3 separate regions of the Homo sapiens genome follow, and regions 1 and 2 are each linked to region 3. The links are contacts of gene promoters, found by promoter capture Hi-C in human tissues and cell types (Jung and others, 2019). All regions are on one chromosome and are shown on one strand. The core of a region is centred on a gene start or on the middle of the fragment in contact, and the rest is flanking DNA. Distances in the headings are between cores, read along the strand shown.

Region 1 (2,967 bases), core at 371-2,870, 200 kb before region 3:
CAGATTTCTCATTAGAAATTTTTCAGGCCAGAAGACAGTGGGCTGACATTTTCTTTTTTGTTCTTTCTTTTTTTTTGAGACAGAGTCTCGCTCTGTCGCCCAGGCTGGAGTGCAATGGCTTGATCTCGGCTCACTGCAAGCTCCACCTCCCAGGTTCATGCCATTCTCCTGCCTCAGCCTTCTGAGTAGCTGGGAATACAGGCGCCCATTACCACGCCTGGCTAAATTTTTGTATCTTTAGTAGAGATGGGGTTTCACCATGTTAGCCAGGATGGTCTCAATCTCCTGACCTTGTGATCTGCCTGCCTCGGCCTCCCAAGACATTTTCAAACTATTAAAAGAAAAAAAAAAACAGCCGGGCATGGTGACTCACGCCTGTAATCCCAGCACTTTGGGAGGCTGAGGAGGGCAGATCACGAGGTCAAGAGATTGAGACCATCCCGGCCAACATGGCAAAATGCCATCTACTAAAAATACAAAAATTAGCAGGGCTTGGTGGTGTGCACCTGTAATCCCAGCTACCCAGGAGGCTGAGGCAGGAGAATCGCTTGAACCCAGGAGGCAGAGGTTGCAGTGAGCTGAGATCATGTCATTGCACTCCAGCCTGGAGACAGAGTGAGACTCGGTCTCAAAAAAATAAAAAATAAACAAACAAAAACAAAAACAAAAAACCTGTCAACCAAGAATCCTATATTGGATAAAACTGTCTTTCAAAAGTGAAGAATATGTGCTTGGCTGAAAAGCCAATGCAGCAAAGCTTCCATCCGTGAGATTATGACTGAATGCCTCTAAATCAAAACTCCGCCCAGGCAGAAGGCAGAATGATATGATAGCACTGCAGAGCCTTGGTTGGCCTCAGATAGCTGGTCCTTTACCGTGCTGCCAGTGCCTCATCTGGTGCCAGGACCGGAGTCCAGTACAGAGAACTCCTCAACCCGTGAAATGGGGTATGGCCAGAAATGGGCTGTCCCCGCTGGCCCATCATGGAGTGCACATTCACGGAGAACCTGGTACTAAACCATTCATAGACAACCTGCTTCTGGGTCAGGATTTTGTACATAGCAGAGTATCTCCCTCACTGTGATCTATTTAAAGTCAGCCCTCAAGATAAGGGTTTGTAAAAGAAAGGAATCAATAATATAAAATTTTTTGAGACAAGGTCTTGCTGTGTCGCCCAGGTTGTAGTGGAGCGGCATGATCACAGCTCACTACAGCCTCAGCCTCCTGGGCTCAAGTGATCCTCCCATCTCAGCCTCCTGAGGACTACAGCTGGGACTACAGACATGCACCAAGCCCAGCTAATTTTTTTTTTCTTTTTTGTAGAGTGGGGTTTCTCCATGTTGTCCAGGGTGGTCTCCAACTCCTGGGCTCAAGCAATCTGCCCACTTTGGCCTCTCAGAGTGTTAGGATTACAGGCATGAGCCACCATACCCAACCCATAAATAATATTTTTAAGAAGATAAAAGAAAAATATAAGAAAAGCCAAAGGGGCCAGGTACAATAGCTCATACCTATAATCCCAATACTTTGGAGGACAAGGCAGGAAGATCACTTGAGTCCAGGATTTTGAGACCAGCCTGGGCAACATAGTGAGACCCTATCTCTACAAAATCAAAGGTCAGGCGTTGTGATGCATGTTTGTAATCCTAGCTACTCAGGAGGCTGAGGGAGGAGGATTGCTTGAGCCCAGGAGGTTGAGGTTGCAGTGAACTGTGATCATGCTACTGTACTCCATCCTGGGTGACAGAGTGAGGCCCTGTCTCTGAACAAAAAGAAGAAAGAAAAAGAAAAAAAAAGCGAAGAAGAAAACTCAAGAAGTTCATAACCAGTAAACCTGCTCTGCAAGATATGCTTAAGGGAGTCCTGAAGGTGAAACGAAAGGACACTAGATAGTAACATGAAACTGTATGAAGAAGTAAAGATCTCAATAGAGGCAAATATATGTGCAATTATAAAAGCTAGTACTATTGTAACAGTAGGTTGTAAAACTACTTTTGGTTTTCTGCAGAATTTAAGAGACTATTACACTTTAAAAAACAATCAGTATCGGCCGGGTGCAGTGGCTCACATCTGTAATCTCAGCACTTTTGGAGGCCGAGGCAGGCAGATCATCTGAGGTCAGGAGTTCAAGACCAGCCTGGCCAACATGGTAAAATCCTGTCTCTACTAAAAATACAAAAATTAGCCAGGCATGGTGGTGGGTGCCTGTAATCCCAGCTACTTGGGAGGCTAAGGCAGGAAAATCGCTTGAACCTGGGAGGCGGAGGTTTCTGTGAGCCAAGATCGGGCCACTGCACTCCAGCCTGGGTGACAAGAGTGAGACAGACTCCATCTCAAAATAAATAAATAAGTAAATAAAATAAATTAAAAGTCAGTATAATAATAAATTAATTAATTGATTAGTTAAACCAAGAACTAATCCAACGCTAGTATTACTGTAACTGGTTTGTAACTACACATTTTGTTTGCTGTATAATTTAAGACACTAACTTTTTAAAAATCATTGTCAGTTTATGTTTTGGGGCATAGAATGTTTAAAGATATAATTTTATGACATCAACAACCATAAGAAAAAGAGATGGAGCTGTAAAAAGAGCAGAGTTTTTATACGATACTGAAGTTGACCTGGTATAAATTCAAACCAGAGTGTTATAACTTTAGGATGTTGATATGGTTTGGCTGTGTCCCCACCCAAATATCATCTTGAATTGTAGTTCCTACAATCCCCATTTGTCATGGGAGGGGCCTGGTGGAAAGTAATTGAATCATGGGGGTCATTACCTCAAAGTTGCTGTTCTCATGATAGTGAGTGAGTTCTCATGAGATCTGATGGTTTTATAAGGGGACTTTCCCCCTTTTGCTCAGCACTTCTCCTTACTGTTGGCATGTGAAGAAGGACATGTTTGCTTCCCCTTCCACCCATGACTGTAAGTTTCCTGAGGCCTCCCCAGCCATGGTGAAGTGTGA
Region 2 (2,700 bases), core at 197-2,696, 180 kb after region 3:
GAAACCCCTCCCTTGGCAGCTCGTTTAAGACCCAAAACGGGGACACAAATGCCCCTGAGAGAGCAGCGGTAGACTGGGATAGATGAGGATGGTCACGTAGTGGGGAGGCGTGTTTTGGGTACCAGCCCTTCACCTCTGCCCACCTTCTCAACTGGAAAAACAATACCCCGTCCTGTACCGAAAAGCCACAAGCTCTGATTGATTTGCTCCAAACTATTATCCAGACCCATAACCCCACCTGGGCTGATTGCCACCAGTTACTCATGTTCCTCTTTAACACGGATGAAAGGGGGAGAGTGCTCCAAGCAGCAACTGAGTGGCTAGAGGAACATGCACCAGCTGATTACCAAAACCCCCAAGAGTATGTAAGGACCCAGTTACCAAGAACTGACCCCCAGTGGGACCCACATGAAAGAGAGGATATGCAAAGGCTAAACAGAGACTGGGAAGCTCTCTTGGAAGGATTAAAGAGGGGAGCCCAGAAGGCCACAAATGTTAACAAAGTCTCTGAGGTCATTCAGAGAAAAGAAGAAAGTCCAGCACAATTGTAGGAGAGACTGTGTAAGGCCTATGGTATGTATACTCCCTTTGATCCCGATAGCCCTGAAAATCAACGCATGATTAACACGGCTTTAGTTACTCAAAGTGCAGAAGACATTAGAAGAAAACTGCAGCAACAGGCTGAGTTTGCAGGGATGAACACATCAGAGTTATTACAAATAGCTAACCAGGCGTTTGTAAACAGGGATGCAGTAAGCCGTAAGGAAAACCACAGAGACAATGAACGTCAGGCCCAGCGAAACACCGACCTGTTAGCGGCAGCAATCAGAGGGGTCCCCCCAAAGAGGCAAGGGAAAGGGGGCCCCGGGAAGGAAACTCAGCCTGGCTGTCAGAGCTTGCAGCGTAATCAGTGTGCTTATTGTAAAGAAATAGGACATTGGAAAAACAAATGCCCTCAGCTAAAAAGAAAACCAGGTGACTCAGAGCAGGAGGCCCCAGACAAGGATGAAGGGGCCCTGCTCAACCTGGCAGAAGGGTTATTGGACTGAGGGGGACTGGGCTCAAGGACCCCCAAAGAGCCTATGGTCAGGATGACAGTTTGGGGTAAAGACATTGATTTTCTTGTAGATAGCGGTGCTGGACATTCGGTAGTAACCACCCCGGTCGCCCCCTTATCCAAAAAGATTATTAACATCATCAGAGCCATGGGAGTTTCAGCAAAGCAAGCTTTCTGCTTGCCTCGGACTTGTGCTGTAGGAGGACATAAAGTGATTCATCAGTGTTTGTACACACCTGACTGTCCCTTGCGCTTGTTGGGAAGGGACTTGCTTAGCAAACTGAGAGCCACTATCTCTTTTACAGAGCATGGCTCTTTGCTGCTAAAGTCACCCAGAACAGGAGTCATTATGACCCTTACGGTCCCCCGAGAGGAAGAATGGAGACTTTTCTTAACTGAGTGGGGCCAAGAGATAAGACCGGCTCTGGCTAAGCGGTGGCCAAGAGTGTGGGTGGAAGACAACCCTCCAGGGTTTGCAGTCAACCAAGCCCCCGTACTTATAGAAGTTAAGCCTAGGGCCCAGCCAGTTAGGCAAAAACAGGATCCGGTCCCCAGAGAAGCTCTTGAAGGTATCCAGGTCCATCTCAAGCACCTAAGAAGTTTTGGAATTAGAGTTTCTTGTCAGTCTTCATGGAACACTCCCCTCTTGCCTGTTCCCAAGCCTAAGATCAAGGACTACTGGCCGGTACAGGATTTGCGCTTGGTTAATCAGGCTGCAGTGACTTTACATCCAGCAGTACCTAACCCGTACACATTGCTGGGGTTGCTGCCAGCTGAGGACAGCTGCTTCACCTGCTTGGACCTGAAAGATGCTTTCTTTAGCATCAGATTAGCCCCTGAGAGACAGAAGCTGTTTGCCTTTCTCTGTTTGACTTCCGGATCTGGGAAGATCCGGAGTCAGGTGTCACTACTCAGTACACTTGGACCGGGCTTCCCCAAGGGTTCAAGAACTCCCCCACCATCTTTGGGGAGGCATTGCCTCGAGACCTCCAGAGGTTTCCCACCAGAGACCTAGACTGCATTTTGCTCCAGTACGTTGATGATCTTTTGCTGGGACACCCCACGGCAGTCGGGTGCACCAAAGAAACAGATGCCCTACTCCGGCATCTGGAGGACTGTGGGTATAAGATGTCCAAGAAAAAAGCTTAGATCTGCTGACAGCAGGTACATTACTTAGGATTTACTATCCGAAAGGGGGAGAGCAGCCTAGGATCAGAAAGAAAGCAGGTCATTTGAAATCTACTGGAGCCTAAGACCAGAAGGCAGGTGAGAGAATTCCTATGGGCTGTGGGGTTTTGCAGACTGTAGATCCCAAACTTTGCAGTATAAGCCAAGCCTTTGTATGAGGTCACAAAGGGGTGGGGCGGGAACGTTTTGAATGGGGATCCCAGCAACAGCAAGCCTTTCATGAGTTAAAGGAAAAACTTATGTCAGCCCCAGCCCTGAAGCTACCCGATCTAACAAAGCCTTTTCCATTGTATGTGTCAGAGAGAGAAAAGATGGCAGTTGGAGTTTTAACCCAAACTGTGGGGCCCTGGCCGAGGCCGGTGGCCTACCTCTCTAAACAACTAGACGGGGTTTCTAAAGGATGGCCCCCATGTTTGAGGGCCTTGGCAGCAACTGCCCTGCTAGTACAAGAAGCA
Region 3 (2,700 bases), core at 201-2,700:
GAGGGTGGGGTGTGCCCAAGAACCATCCTCTTCTGAGACTGGCACCGCAAGGATCCCAAGTCTCCACTGACATGTGTCACTTTGCCCTCTACTCGCACCCCATTGCTGTCAGAGGCACAGATGGCTTTCCTGTTCCCAGCGCCTCCCAGCTTTCCATCTGATTCAGCTTGGCTGAGCTACAATTCAGTTTCTGTGGACCCCAAGTTCTGCCTCACCTAAGAAACCTTTTAAATCCATCCTTCCTTTCTCCCTCCCAGAGATCCTGTTTCCCACCTTTCTGCTCCTCCCTTCATCCTCCCCAAATCTAACCAAAAACAACATTACCAGCCCCCGCCAGCATGCACTGAGAGCGAACTTTGTTAGCTCTCCTCCCCCAGGAACCGTGCCCAGGGGTGGAAAGCGCTGCCATCCTATCCTTACAAGGACTCCACGAGGGAGGCACAAATAAGGCGCTGGGACTCAGTTTGTTGAGTGACTCGCTAGGGCTGGGTGTGGTGGCTCACGCCTGTAATCCCAGCACTTTGGGAGGCTGAGGCAGGTGGATCACCTGAGGTCAGGAGTTTGAGACCAGCCTGGCTAACATGGTGGAACCCCGTCCCTACCAAAAAATACAGAAATTAGCCAGGTGTGGTGGTGGGCACTTATAATCCCAGCTACTCGGGAGGTTGAGGTAGGAGAATCGCTTGAACCCAGGAGGCAGAAGTTGCAGTGAGCCCAGACTGCACCACTGCCCTCCAACCTGGGCGACAGAGTGAGACCTTGTCTCAAAAAAAAGATAAAAAAGTGACTTGTCGGAAGTCACACGATAAGGAGGTGGGCCGAGGATCGGAACCCAGCCCTGCCCTGCTGGAAACTCTTCAAGGCCTGAACAGTCCTCGGTACCACATTCCTTTCCCCAGCTTCAAGGCCCTCCTGGAACTGTCCCCCAGCCTGCCGCGTGACCTTGGGCAGATGATGTGACCTGACCTCCGTCTTCTCACCTATGAAGTGGGTTGGGGGCGGTTGGTCTTGGGAATTAGGGGAGCCCGTACATGCCAAGGGCACCCCAGAGCCCGGCACTTAGCCGGCGCTCATAAGAGCTCATCCCACGACCTGTGAACCCCCTAACAGGCCCACTCCTTTGGATCACTGACTGCAGTTCCAGGGACCCAACCCAGCACCTTCCCCACCTTCCCAGTGATCTCCGACCCTAACTAGGCCGGTGGCGCAGAGCGGGCGGCGCATGCGCCCTGAGAGCCGGCTCCCCGCTGCACCTGAAGGACACGGAGGCCGCGGATCCTGAGTGAGCCGAGGGGAAGCCCAGGCGCAGAGCTGGCGGCGCCAACGGGGACACCACACTCGCCCCCGACGCCACGCTGCCCAAGCCCGACTTTCACGGCCAAAACGTGAACACCCACCTTGAAGCGCCGCCGCTACTTGCCTTGCCAAGCAGGCCAGTCAATCGGGAGGCGGAGGCTACACTGTAGGACGCTGCCATTGGGCCAGCGGGTTCCCCCTTTTCTGTATTGATGCTTCATGGTGTGGTCTGATTGGCCAGCAAGGCTGCTGAAAGAGGCGGGATTCAGAAATATCTTTCTTTTGATTGGCTAGGAGAGACCGGCGCTTGAAGTTTGTAGGGGGCCGCCATGTTGGTTTGGGGAGGCCAATAAGTGAAGACCTCCGAGCCGCTGGAGGCGGGACATCCGGGGCGTGGTTTAGAAAGAGTGCTTTCGCCGTGGGTGCAGAGGGTGGGCCCGCCGGGTTGGGTGGGGGGCGTGTGATGACGGTAATGGCGACGAGATGCTCAACTCACGCGGCCTCTTTTAATCCTCACAGCAGCTCTGCGTGGAGAAACTACAGTAACGTGTTACCACGTTAAGGCGGGAAGCTGAGGCATGGGAGTATTTAGTAACGTTCCCGGGCCGTAGAGCTGCGGTGTGCGGCCGCCTGATCCACCTGATCTGTATGACTCCCGTACTCAACCAGCCTATGTTTCCTACCAGCGAATTTTTTTTTTTTTTTTTTTTTTTTTCTTTTTTTGAGACAATCTGGCTCTGTGGCTCAGGCTGGAATGCAGTGGTGCGATCTCGGCTCACTGCAGCCTCGACCTCCCAGGCTCGGGTGATCCTCACTTCTCAGCCTCCCGAGCAGCTGGAACCACAGTCGCCTGCCACCACCAGGCTCGGCTAATTTTTGTATTTTTTGTAGAGACGGGGTCTCGCCATGTTGCCCAGGCTGGTCTGGAACTCCTGGACTCAGGCGATCCTCCTGCCTCGGCCTGCCAAAGTGCTGGGATTACAGGCGTGAGCCACCACGCCGGGCCTTTCCCCGGGAATGCTGTGGTAGAGGGACCCGCAGAGGCCCCGAGGCTGCCTGCATGTGTGTGTTGGGAGGATCTGCGCTGAGGGTAGGTAGGAGTTGGGCAGGCCAGGACAGGAAGGAGGCAGAGGGCATGTCCCATGCCCGTGCAGAGGGAGGACACGCATGGTAGACCAGGACGAGGACAAGGGCAGGCTCAGTGTGTGCAAAGGGGACAGTGGTTTGGGATTTGCATGCAGATGCCCGAGCCTCCAAAGGACCTGTGGGCCACAGGGAGACCCTGGGGGAGTTCAAGCTGAGGAGTGGAGAGGGCTTTGGGCTGGTCAGCAGGTGCTCAGAGGAGAGGGGCTGGCCCTAGAGAGAAGGGAGGTCTTGGGATGGTGGCCCACACCTGACCCTGGC

The links. Contacts are between HindIII fragments. The study calls those that stand out against the background at their distance.
Region 1: a fragment that was not itself captured here is called in contact with the fragment with the promoter of NDUFS8 in region 3 in 2 of the 25 tissues and cell types used here (bladder and dorsolateral prefrontal cortex).
Region 2: a contact is called between a fragment that was not itself captured here and the fragment with the promoter of NDUFS8 in region 3, in 2 of the 25 tissues and cell types used here (H1 embryonic stem cells and pancreas).

Annotation. Positions count from the first base shown.
Region 1 is chr11:68,229,728-68,232,694 of GRCh38, reverse strand. No RefSeq gene overlaps it. Among named protein-coding and RNA genes, the nearest start is that of KMT5B, 18 kb to the right of the region's middle. The HindIII fragment of the contact is 3,922 bases long and covers 1-2,967 here.
Region 2 is chr11:67,849,701-67,852,400 of GRCh38, reverse strand. All of the region lies in intron 3 of LOC112268076 (translation initiation factor IF-2-like), which reads left to right. It also overlaps the pseudogene ENPP7P7. Among named protein-coding and RNA genes, the nearest start is that of LINC02754, 33 kb to the left of the region's middle. The HindIII fragment of the contact is 3,083 bases long and covers 1-2,700 here.
Region 3 is chr11:68,029,431-68,032,130 of GRCh38, reverse strand. It overlaps NDUFS8 (NADH:ubiquinone oxidoreductase core subunit S8), which reads right to left and starts at 1,450. Exons shown (of 7, transcript NM_002496.4): 1 at 1,398-1,450. It overlaps GLTC1 (glycolysis associated regulator of LDHA post-transcriptional modification 1), which reads left to right and starts at 1,697. Exons shown (of 4, transcript NR_197583.1): 1 at 1,697-1,838. RefSeq lists enhancers at 1,244-1,423, 1,415-1,709. The HindIII fragment of the contact is 8,880 bases long and covers 1-2,700 here.